2 separate regions of the Homo sapiens genome follow, and region 2 is linked to region 1. Evidence: promoter capture Hi-C in human tissues and cell types (Jung and others, 2019). All regions are on one chromosome and are shown on one strand. The core of a region is centred on a gene start or on the middle of the fragment in contact, and the rest is flanking DNA. Distances in the headings are between cores, read along the strand shown. Region 1 holds the start of ABCA2 (ATP binding cassette subfamily A member 2). Region 2 overlaps SEC16A (SEC16 homolog A, endoplasmic reticulum export factor).

Region 1 (5,999 bases), core at 511-3,010:
CGGGCTGCCCACTGGCTACCCCAGTTCCTACAGCCTCCGCCAGACGGCCCCTTATCAGAGAGCCTTCTGTGTCCCCCAAAAGGCCAAGGCGATGAGCCCAGGAGTTCGAGACCAGCCTGGGCAGTGTAGTGAAATCTCATCTCTACCAAAAATACAAGAATTAGCAGGGCGTGGTGGCTCACGCTTGTGGTCTCAGCTACTTGGGATACTGAGGTGAGAGGATGGCTTGAGCCCAGGAGGTTGAAGCTTCAGTGAGCCGTGATCACACCACAGCACTCCAGCCTGGGCAACAGAATGAGACCCTGTCTCAAAACAAAAACCAAAACAGGCCAAGGTTGGGGAAGAGTAGGGAACGGACGTCAGAGGCCTGGCCAGGCTGAAATCGCCCATCTCCCAGGCCCGCAGGCTGGAGGGTGTCTGGGGTGACAGGGTCTGACCTGTGCCTTGTAGCTCCCTCTGGTGGCCAGTGCTGGGGAGGCACTGGGGATGCGGCTGCAGCCAGGGAGCCCCTGTAGTGGACGGTGGAGAGTGGGGCGAGGAGGAGAGAGGCCAACCCACGGGTGGTGCTGACCAGGGCCCCAACAGGCTAAGCCCCCGGGGCTGGGGCACAGGGCTTGTCCCTACCCCAGGTAGGGGTGGGCAGGTTGAGGGCAGGAAGCCCCCCTCACCCATGGCTGTGGCTTGTGGGAAAGACCTGCTGGTAGCTTCCTGCCCTGACCCAGCCCTGTGGACTGAGCAGAGAAAAGCAAGTGCCTTGAGGCTGCGGGCTGGGGTGGGAAGCTGATCCCTCACTCACTAGCCCAGGGTCACCTTCCTGCTGCAAAGGAGCTGGGAGGAGTGGGGAGCTGTGGCCTCGGAGGTCTTCATTCACTTGAGGATGCGCCTTCTATGTGCGCCCTGACACTGGACACCACACAGCGCTACTCCACCCCATTCACAGGGGGGAAACTGAGTCTGGGAAGCGCCGTCAGAGCCACCCATGGGGTCAGCCTGTCCTCTGTCGCTCTCTACAGGCCACGCGGAGGAACTGCCCCACCTCCCGGGGCGCCCCAGCAGGTGCCAAGCCACAGCCGCAGAACCGCCTGATCCCGAACTCCCTGTGCAGAGACCAGACTCGCCCGAATATGGGGAGAAAAACGAGCCGCGTGCAGCAGGGGCCGCCTCGGTCCCCTGCCTGCTCCGCTCACGGCGAGCGTTCCTGGGGCCTCGAGTTTCCCCCCTTCCGCTGGCTGCTCGGAATCGCGGGACGGACCCACCTGGCCGCCCTGCCTCCCTTCCAGGTGGGCACCACCTGGACTCCAAGTGCTGGTTTACAAAGCACACAGGAGACCCTTACGGGGGTGAGCTGGCCCCTCGCCAGCGTCCGCTCGGCGCGCCCCGGGGACAGTGAAGGCTTGGGGCGCCTCTGCAGAGTCGCCAGCGCGGTGGGCGCAGCCGGATGCCTCTGGGAGAAGAGCGCAGCGCCCGAGGGTCCCCCGGCCTACGAAGGCTAAGCCGGGGTCTCGGATTCGATGTGGGCGCGTCGCGTGACGCCCGGCGAGGGGCGGCCCGGAGGCTTCCCGGCGGCGGCGCGCGCAGGGTCTCGGGCCCGGGTCGGTCCCGGGCGCGGCGCGGGCGGCGGGCGCCTCCTGGCGGGCGCGGACGGAGCGCGGCGCCTTTAAGCGGGGGCGGGCGGGGCGCGGGCAGAGTCGCTGTCGCCGCGGCCGCCGGGGCGGAGCCAGCGCGGATCGGGTCCCGGACGCCCGAGCGCCCCGCCCCCGCGCGGGCGATGCCCAGCGGCGCGGCGGGCTGCGGGGCCCGGCGGGGCGCGCAGAGGAGCGGGCCGCGGCGCTGAGGCGGCGGAGCGTGGCCCCGCCATGGGCTTCCTGCACCAGCTGCAGCTGCTGCTCTGGAAGAACGTGACGCTCAAACGCCGGAGCCCGGTGAGCCCACCCCACGCGCCCGCCCTCAGCCCGAGGCCGCGCGCACCGCGGCCAGAGGCGCGCTCCCCGCGCGCACGTGCGGACGGCCGGGCGCGCGCAGACCCCGGCGGGCGCTGGGGGCGGCGCGGGCCCGAGCCCCCTCCCCGCCGGGCCCTGCCCTCGCCTGCCGGCGCTGCGGCCTCCGGGGAGGTGGCTCGGTCGTGTCCAGTCCGGTCCCGCGTCCGCTGACATCGCGGTGCTCGGCTGAGTCACGGCACCCGCGCCCTCTGCAGCGCGCTCGCTGGGGCCGCTGTGGGCGGGGGGCAAGCGGCGCTCAGGACTCTGGCTCGAGGGAGGCCCTGGTTCCCAGGACAGAAGGCAGGCCTGGGGGGCTCCATTCAGCTGCGAGGCTCCATGGTCCTTGGGCCCAGCCTCCCTGGGGTCCCGGAGGAGACCCTGTCCCTTCCCTCCGTCCACCCCTCCCCTGCCCTTGGGCCGCGGCCTGCCATAGAGGTTGGTCCCAGGCATCTCTCCGCCTCCCCTCCTGGCACATCCGTGACCCTTGCTCATGCTCTCGCCACTGGGAATGTCCTTGTGCCAGCCTTGGCCAGCCTGAATCTCTGCACCCATTTGTCCTTTGGGGTCAGTTCTCCCCGAGCCTGATCCACTCTGTTGCCTCCTGGTCCCCCCACCTGCTCTGGGGGCTGGGTCTACTGTTTGGAGCTGTGAACCCCGGCTTTCCCAGCACTGCCTGGGCAGCCAGTGGACCTGAGGGTGCAGGACACATGGCTGTCAGGGACAGAAGTCCTTCGTGGAGCGAGGGGCTTGGGGATATGGGTGTCCTGCCATACCCCCAGCTGGCCAGCTTGGCTCCAGCCTGGGAAGGGAAGGGACACCTCCCAGGCCACAGGCCTGGACCAGCTTAGGTTTCTGAAGGCCCTTGGGATTGTCCAGGCCAGGGCTCAGAGCAGGTGGGGGCCTAAGGCAGACATCCTCTTGCCCAGCCAGGGCCCGGGCGGGACCCCTTGGGCTGCACCAGTCCGTGCCTGTTTATCTTTCAACATGCACTGCAGGAAACCCAGGCTGCAGTCAGCTGGGGTGGCCATCATCACCATGGCTGGCAGAATTCCCCTGGGCACCTGGCCTTGGCGGGGAGCCTGGGTTAGGTACATGCCCTGGCCAGGCACCTGGAGCTGGCTGAGTGGGGTCCCATGGATCAGGCCTGCAGCCCCTGGCATTGAGTCACTGGGGACAGCAGAGCAGGGCCAAGGGAACAGGGATGTGGCATGTGGCATGCATTAGTATTAGTCCCCGGGGGTGGTTGTCAGGAAGGTCCCCACTGGGCTTGGGAGCAGAGGCTGGAATGGTGGCCCCTGTTCCAGTGGGGACAATGCTCAGGGAAGGGAGTGTGGCCTATGAGGGCAGCTGGCAAGCAGGTGGGAGGTGTGCACTGTCCTGACCGCAAGAGTGACTCCCAGCTGCTGGTTTGGGCTGCCCCCCAGGACCTTTTTGGGTCCCCACCCTACAGGGCTCCCAGAGGCCCACTGGGCCACAGTGGAGGTCCTTAGCCCATGGCTGGAGCAGGTGGGGAACTGTTTCCCCCAGGGAGGCTGAGTCCTTGCCAGGCTTGTGATGTGGGGCTGGGGCTGGCTGGACACTGGGCACACTCCTGCTGGGTCCCCACTTTCCTGGGAAGGATCTTGGACATCAGAGCTGGACTCTTGGGGCCAAGCTTGGATGACAGAGGTTTGCCCTGTGTGCCATGCGCCCTGCTGGGGCAGGGGTGCACCCTGGGCAGAGCTCCACCCTGGGCAGAGCTCAGGGTCTGGAGGGTGGGTGCCAAGGACCTCTGTGCTGCTAGCAGGCTCCTCCAAGCTCTTTGCCTCAGTTTCCCTGTCTGTGAGTGTGGCCTATCTCCTCTTAGTTAGCTGGACTTGGGTCTACCCTTGGGCTACAGGCTGCTCTTGGTGCAGGGACAGGGTCACTGTCATGAAGTCACTGGGATGGCAGATGGCAGCGCCACCCTCGGGTCTCACCTGTTCTCCCCCCGACACAGTAGGCGGGAGCTACAGGGAGGGGTCATGCCCAGAGAAGGCATCTAGGCCTCCAGGCGATGTGAAGGCACTGGGCTGGTCTCGAGGGACGGAGGTTGGGCCACCTGGAGGCACCTGTGTGGGGCACCCAGGGCGTGCTAGACCTGTGCTGCCGCCTGTAACCAGATGCTGCTGTGGCGCCCGCCGCCTGCCAGCCAGGACTCTCCTCCTCCTCCCAGTAGCTCGTGCGAGGCCGTTGCTATAGCAATGGGGGAGGCAGCCGGGCCTGTTGCTGCAGTTACAGTGCCCATAGCAGGCCGGGTGTGGGCGGGGCTGGCGCCCCGTGCTGTGACCCCTGCCTCTGACATTGCCTCACTCCTGCAGCCACCCTCGCCCTGGTGCCTGTTGGTGCCCACAGTGCCTTGGCGAACCCTGGGCTCCGTCCTGGCTCAGGGAGCGGGTGGAGGCTGGCACGGGCTGGGGCGGGCATGGGACACCCACAGCATGATGTTCCTGGCCACAAAGCCCTATTGTCCAAGCACAGTAAACACAGCAGCCGCCCCCACCCCAGGGACCGGGGACTCGGCCCGGGCCACACAGCACACTGGGGGCTCTGAAGGGTTTTGGGATGGGGATGAGGACAAAGGATGCCTCCGAGCTGGGTGCTCGCCCTCGGGCTAGGGAGGGCAGGGCCCCTCTGTCCTGTGGGTCTCAGAGAGGGCTGGTCTGCCGAGGGCTCTCTGGAGGGTAGCTGGCTCAAGCTCCTCCTCCTCCCTGAGCTGGGGGCTGGGACACAAGAACCGGTAAAGTCCTTGGTTTTCAGGTGAAGTGAGCAAAGCACCTCTTTCTCACTCCACGCAGGTCCCACTAGGGCTCACCTTGGTGCCCAGCCTGGGTTAGCAGGAGCCGACCTGGGGAAACTGAGCTCCAAGGCCCAAGACTGGCTGCCCCGGGTCAGGAGAGGGGACAGGGCAGAAAGAGGTGCCTTTGGGCCAGGTGTGGTGGCTCACGCCCAGGTGGGCGGATCACGAGGTCAGGAGATCGACACCATCCTGGCTAACACGGTGAAACCCCGTCTCTACTAAAAATACAAAAAATTAGCTGGGCATGGTGGCGGGCGCCTGTAGTCCCAGCTACTCGAGAGGCTGAGGCAAGAGAATGGTGTGAACTTGGGGGACGGAGCTTGCAGTGAGCTGAGATCGCACCACTGTGCTCCAGCCTGGGTGACAGAGTGAGACTCCGTCTCAAAAAAAAAAAAAAAAAAAGGTGCCTTTGCTTCAGGGACTGGGGCTGTTAGACCCCTTACCAGGTCTTCTCCGAGGCTCAGGGCCCTGGGCGCAGGCCAAGCCTCTCAACCAGGCCTCCTCATCTCCCCAGGCCCCGGTATTGGTGGGGAGGAAGTGGGAGGAAGGTGAACCCGGGGCAGTGTGGGAAGTGTAGGCGGGGCTAGTGGCTCAGATGGTCCCCAAGATTTTGCCCAGGTAGCCCTGGAGGTGGGGAGGGAGAAGATGAGCTGGGATATACATGGGTCAGAGTAGACCACAAGCTGGCCGATTTGTCCCTGTAGGCCCTGAGGCTCCTCAGAGGGCACGTAGGCCCAGTGTGGGCTGGGGACGGGAAACCTGATTTGCTGAGCCAGACAATCCTTACCCTCAGTGCCCTGGAAGGGGCTCAGACCTTCAGTGGTTCCGAAGGGCCTGTGCCCACCTTCCCTGGCCCCAGGGAGCACGTGGTCCTGTCTGGGCTGGGCCAGCCCTATGGGAGGCTGGGGAGGGCCTAGGCGAGCACAGGTCTGTCCTATCCCTCACTGGGCCCACCCTTTCCAGTGGGTCCTGGCCTTCGAGATCTTCATCCCCCTGGTGCTGTTCTTTATCCTGCTGGGGCTGCGACAGAAGAAGCCCACCATCTCCGTGAAGGAAGGTGAGTGCGGCAGGAGGCCCCAGGCACAGCCGGGGGAGCGCGGCACCTCGCACGCCTGCGCTGTGTGTGCACATCTGCACACGGGTGTCCTGCTCCCGGAGTCCCTGAGGTGCGGTGCCTGCTCCCCTGTGTGGTCCTGGGCCGT
Region 2 (5,786 bases), core at 1,812-4,311, 570 kb after region 1:
CTGCCTCTTGGGCGGATAAAGATCTTTGAATGGCTTCGTGTTTTGCGTCTTAGCCTGGGAACTCTCAGGCACCGTGTGCCAGCACAGAGCCTTGGCAGCGAGTTTCACAATCAGAAGGAACTACCTGTAGGATACTCTTCTTTTATTGAGACGCAGTCTCACTCTGTCACCCAGGCTGGAGTGCAGTGTGGTGCAATCTCGGCTCAATGCAACCTCCGCCTCCCAGATTCAAGTGATGCTCCTGCCTCAGCCTCCCAAGTAGCTGGGATTACAGGCGCCTGCCACCACGCTTGGCCAATTTTTTGTATTTTTAGTAGAGATGGGGTTTCACCATGTTGGCCAGGCTGGTCTCGAACTCTTGACCTCAAGTGATGCATGCATCTGCCTTGGCCTCCCAAAGTGCTGGGATTACAGGCGTGAGCCACCACGCCCGGCCAGGATATTCTTATTTTGAGGCAATTTAGTCTGGTGGTTGATAGCTTAAGTGTCCAGAGTCCAGCAGCCTTTGCTTGAGTCCTGGCTGTACTGCTGCAGGCCTCAGTTTCTTCGCCTGTAAAACAGAGGCGGCATGACTGACGAGAGTATGGGAGGCGCCCGTGTTGCATCAGGATCTTCACCTCTTGTCAGTAGTTCCATTTGTGAGAACGTGCTCATGGGATACCCAAAAACTGTATTAGGGACATTTTTAGACCCATTTCAAAGTTCAGAGAGTCATTCATGCATGCGTCCTTAGGTGCTCATCCCCCACCTTAGTGGTTACGAACACAGGGCCAAACTTGTGTTCTGCCCCCTCTGTCCCGCTCTGCATCCCCCAAATTCCCGATGAAAGCATGCAGACATTCCTGGGGGAGTCCAGCTTTTGCTGAGTCAGGTCCACGTGGTCAGGTGGTAGTCTCGGGCCAGGCCTGTTCCAGGGGGGTGCCTAGCACTGCCAACCCAGTGCCCGTGGGCCAAGAGGTCGTCTACAGCAACTTCCCAGTCACCCAGCGTCCCATGTGCTGTGTATGTCACCTAAGCACATACTAGAAACATATAGGCAGCTAATTAAACTTTATTGCCAGTGAACACTGAAGCTGCATTGCCCGGCATTTTGAAGACGGCTCACTTGCCATCACCCGGTGGTGACAGGGGCCTTTGATTTTTGCCCGTGTCTAGATGGCTTCCCAGTTACGACTCTTCGATCCCCAGCTGAAAGAGAAGCCAGAAGAGGAGTCCTTGGCCGCACCCACGTGGCTGGTTCACCTGCAGCAGGTGGAGCGGCAGATTAAGGTACAGCCTTGGCTTGGGGTGGCACAGAGGCGTCTGGCAAGGTGGCTTCTGTCCCTGTCATTTCCACACTGAAAGTATGTATCTGTAAAGACAGTGTAACTGCAAACGTGTGCCTATGAGAATTCCCTAATTCCCCAGAAAGGGCTTTGAGTGCCTCCTGTCCTGAAGTAGGGACACAGCAAGCGCGGTGGTGGCAGGCGGGCAGCGCTGCAGAGCGGCCACAGGCGGCTTCCACAGGGCAGGTCTTGTTCTCCCTCAGGAGGGGGCTGGAGTATGGCATCAGGATGGAGCCCTCCCGCAGCAGTGTCCTGGCACTCCGAGTTCCGAGATGGAGCAGTTGGACAGGCCAGGACTCAGTCAGCCAGGAGCCCTGGGGATCGCCAACCCTCTGCTGGCGGTGCCTGCACCGAGCCCTGAGCACTCGAGCCCGAGCGTGCGGCTGCTGCCCTCAGGTGAGCCCAGGTGCGCGGCTGCTGCCCTCAGACAAGCCCCTGCTTCCTGTGGGCTGAGCCATGGCCTGCACCCTTGCCTCCTGGAGAACTGCTTTCAGATGTGGACTGTTGGAGGCAGTGTCTCACACCACCTCGGTGGTTGTGGGGCTCCTCGGTCTCCTCCCTCTTCCCTTCATGCTTCCTCCCCTGAGGAGCCCATGGAGGGGAGGCTCATGGCTTTCCATGTCCATAAATATCCATGTGCTGGCGACACTGCCCTGAGCGCCCGCTGCCTGCTCAGCCTCCCTGCTTGTTTCTCCGGGAGCCTCAGCCGCACCGTGTCTGGGCGGCGCCCTCGGCTGTGCCCCTCTGTAACCTGCTTCTCCCAGTCGGCCCCGTCGGTGGAAGGGCCAGCCCAGAGCTCCAGGGAGTCAAGTCCAGATGCCCCCTCCTCTCTCGCGCTTCTCGGCTTCCTTCGTCAGTGAACCTCACCAGCGCGGCCTGCACGCAGGTCCGCATGCCTGGATGAGCACGGGCTCCTTCCTGCTCGCCTCCTGCTTCTTCCCCAGACCCTCCAGACTCTCCATCTCACCTGAGGACAAGCCAGGGTCCTCACGGTGGCCACAGGCCCTCCAAGCTTGGCCCTGAGCCCTCCTGCCCTCGTGCCATGTCCACTCCCACGCTGTGGACCAGCCACACTCCTGATTTGGGCCCACTGCCCACCCTCCCTGCCTGATGTCCAGTCTGCTTCGTCCTCAGACACCGTTACCACTTCCTGGTTGATTGCTGTCCTTAGCGCTTTCTCTTACTCAGTTCATCTGTCCCGACCCCCATGAGGACCCAGCATTTCTTTTGTTGTTGAAGCATCCAGGGCCCAGCATGGTGCTGGTAGGCAGCAGCCCTCTCAGGTTTTATGTTGAGTCGGAAGAATGAAGGAATGAACGAGTGGCCTGTGTGACCCCTGGCCGTGGAGGAGGGGACTCGGGCCTAGCAGAGCTCTGTGCCAGGCGGCCGCCATGGGCTTGCGTGTGGGCCGGGCCCTGGAGCCCGCGTGCCGCTGTGACTGCTCAAGTGCCCCTCCCCTAGAAAAGGAAGCGGATACTCTGCTTTTCTGCAAACCACGGATGGTGCGGTGGGGTGGTGGCTTCAGGCTTTCTGCTCTGTTGGACCTCCCTTATAAAAGAAATGGGGCTGTACAAAATAACTTGTCATAAACACGTCGAGTGTCAGCTCCTTCCAGTAACTCAAGCTACCCTCAGTAACCCCAGACCTCTTCTCCACCGTTCCCATGCAGCTCCGCAGACGCTCCCTGACGGCCCATTGGCCAGTCCTGCCAGAGTGCCGATGTTCCCAGTGCCACTGCCCCCGGGGCCCCTGGAGCCGGGTCCTGGCTGTGTGACCCCAGGGCCTGCACTTGGCTTCCTGGAGCCCTCCGGGCCTGGCCTCCCACCTGGTGTGCCACCTCTGCAGGAAAGGAGACACTTGCTCCAGGAAGCCAGGAGCCCAGACCCAGGTGGGGCTGCAGAGATGCTGTCTCGAGAGCAGAAGCAGCATGGGGTGTGGTGTTTGTGGGGATTGGTGGAAGAGATTGAAGTTATTTGAGCTTGAAACAACTTACATTACTTGTCTTAACGTAGACCAGAAATTCTGGAAGTTACAGACTGGATGGGTTCAGAGTCTCACTACAACAGCAGTGTTAATGCCAGTTCCTTTTGTAACTTGGCTTTTTGTTGTGAAGCTTAAATGGCCATTTGGGGCAGGGCATGGTGGCCATGGGTCTCCTGGGGTCTGTCTTTAGACGGCCCTGCTGGACGCCTGGTGAGATGCACAGGGGCAGGTCATGAACTGTCTGGAACTCGATTTGGTGGATCTTGTCCCTGGTCTGTGCCTATGTCTACATGTGTGTATATGGACAAAGCAAAACATAGGCCTAGTTTTAAAAATGAAAGAGTGTGCACACATGTGGGAAGATGTTCAGCCTTGGTTTCTGCAGATCATGCTGGTGTGGCGGTAGCTGGGTGGGAAGGTGGTGTGCCTGTTGATCTGTGCGCCACACACACGTCCCGCCTTCTCGTGACTGAGATCATAGTTGCTCTCTTTCCCGTTGACAGGGATAGTGCCGCAGGAGGCGCCTGTTGGAAACTCACTTTCCGAGCTAAGCGAAGAAAATTTTGATGGAAAATTTGCTAATCTGGTACTTTGTCACATTTTCTTAAACTGTTTGTTTTCCATAAAGTTCATCGAGTGGGCACCCAGACTCCTTGTTGAGTTGTAAGATGATGGTAGTGAGGACTATGAAATTGTTTCTAAAATTGTTTCTTAAAGTGAAAGTGCTTCTAAATAGCTTTCATCCTTAAAATATGAAGAGTTGGTGAAAACACTGGCAGGGAAAGATGGGGAAGAGAGAATTCAGTAGTGTAAAAACAGTTACTTTAAGTAGAAGAAATACCCAAATATCATGAAATCCCCTTATTAATTTTAATTCTTCCAAAATGGGTACCTTCTCTGATTTCTACATCTCTTTTTCTTTTTTTTTTCTTTTTTTTTTTTTTGAGACAGATTCTTGCTCTGTCGCCCAGGCTTGAGTGCAGTGGTGCGATCTCGGCTCACTGCAACCTCCACCTCCTGGGTTCAAGCAGTTCTGTGCCTCAGCCTCACAAGTAGCTGGGACTACAGGTGTGTGCCACCATGCCCGGCTAGTTTTTGTATTTTTAGTAGAGATGGGGTTTCACCATGTTGGCCAGGCTGGTCTTAAACTCCTGACCTCATGATCTACCCGCCTCAGCCTCCCAAAGTGCTGGGATTACAGGTGTGATCCACCAAGCCTGGCCTTTTTTTTTTTTTTTTTTTTTCCCTAAGACATAGTTTCGCTCTGTCGCCTAGGCTGGAATGCAGTGGCGCCATCTTGGCCACTGCAACCTCCGCCTCCCAGGTTCAAGTGATTCTCCAGCCTCAGCCTCCCAAGTAGCTGGGACTACAGGCATGTGCCACCATGCCTGGCTAATTTTTTGTATTTTTTGGTAGAGACAGGGTTTCGCCATGTTGGCCAGGCTAGTCTCGAACTCCTGACCTCAAGTGATCTGCCTGCCTCAGCCTCCCAAAGTGCTGGGATTAAGGTGTGAACCACTGCACCTGGCCATCTCTTTTTTTTTTTTTTTTTTTTTTTTTTTTTGAGATGGAGTTTCTCTCTGTCGCCCAGCCTGGAGTGCAGTGGTGCGATCTTGGCTCACTGCATCCTCTGCCTCCCAGGTTTAAGCAATTCTCTGCCTCAGCCTCCTGAGTAGCTGGGACTACAGGCGCCCACCACCACACCCAGCTCATTTTTTTTTGTATTTTTAGTAGAGATGGGGTTTCACCATCTTGGCCAGGCTGATCTTGAACTCCTGACCTCATGATCCACCTGCCTCAGCCTCCCAAAGTGCTGGGATTACAGGCATGAGCCACCCCGCCCAGCCCGGCCGTCTCTTTTTCTACAGTAGAATTTCTTTTCTAATTTTTTGATCTCACAAGAGGATGTCCTGGAATTCAGTAGAATTTCTAACATTGTCACTGGTTTTCCTGAAAGTGAGATTTATCTCATTAGACATGTTTGGTATAAATACCTCCTCTGTTTGCTCTACTCCTAACCAGGAGGGATGGTTGCTTTTATACAGACCGCATTCTGGAACCTTCTTTACAGATACCCAGCCCTTCACGGGCATCCCATCAGTAGGCGATTGCTATAGTTTGAACTTGCATTAGGTGTTTTACCCTTTAAAATACTGTGTCCCTGGAAAAGTAAAAATGAGGGTTGAGCTATTAAAAATTGGGACTTGACCCAGGAATAAATATTTTTAAAAATCATTGTATCTTTGAGAACACCCATCGCCCCCCTCTGGCCAGTCTTCCCTCAGTGCATGCTCACACTCCGTTTCTTCCAGCCCGGAATCTCCATCGAACGCCCTCATTTGCATTCTGAGTGCTGAGTGCTCCCAGACGGAGCTGCTTATTAAGTGCGGCTGGCTCTTCTCTAGTCAGGCCAGGTAGAGGCTCTGGGAGGCCCAGTCAGGGGGCTGCTCTCCCCAGCCCCCTTCCTGCCTCCCTCTG

Evidence for each region. Contacts are between HindIII fragments. The study calls those that stand out against the background at their distance.
Region 2: a fragment that was not itself captured here is called in contact with the fragment with the promoter of ABCA2 in region 1 in 1 of the 25 tissues and cell types used here (spleen).

The regions. Positions count from the first base shown.
Region 1 is chr9:137,023,998-137,029,996 of GRCh38, reverse strand. ABCA2 (ATP binding cassette subfamily A member 2) reads left to right here and starts at 1,760. Exons shown (of 49, transcript NM_001606.5): 1 at 1,760-1,922; 2 at 5,761-5,854. The coding sequence starts at 1,857. It overlaps LINC02908 (long intergenic non-protein coding RNA 2908), which reads right to left and starts at 2,533. Exons shown (of 3, transcript NR_171031.1): 1 at 2,086-2,533. RefSeq lists an enhancer at 875-1,619 and a silencer at 1,503-1,682. The HindIII fragment of the contact is 11,656 bases long and covers 1-1,940 here.
Region 2 is chr9:136,451,536-136,457,321 of GRCh38, reverse strand. It overlaps SEC16A (SEC16 homolog A, endoplasmic reticulum export factor), which reads left to right. Exons shown (of 32, transcript NM_014866.2): 19 at 1,156-1,269; 20 at 1,529-1,721; 21 at 2,995-3,213; 22 at 3,812-3,894. Among named protein-coding and RNA genes, the nearest start is that of INPP5E, 15 kb to the right of the region's middle. The HindIII fragment of the contact is 5,536 bases long and covers 294-5,786 here.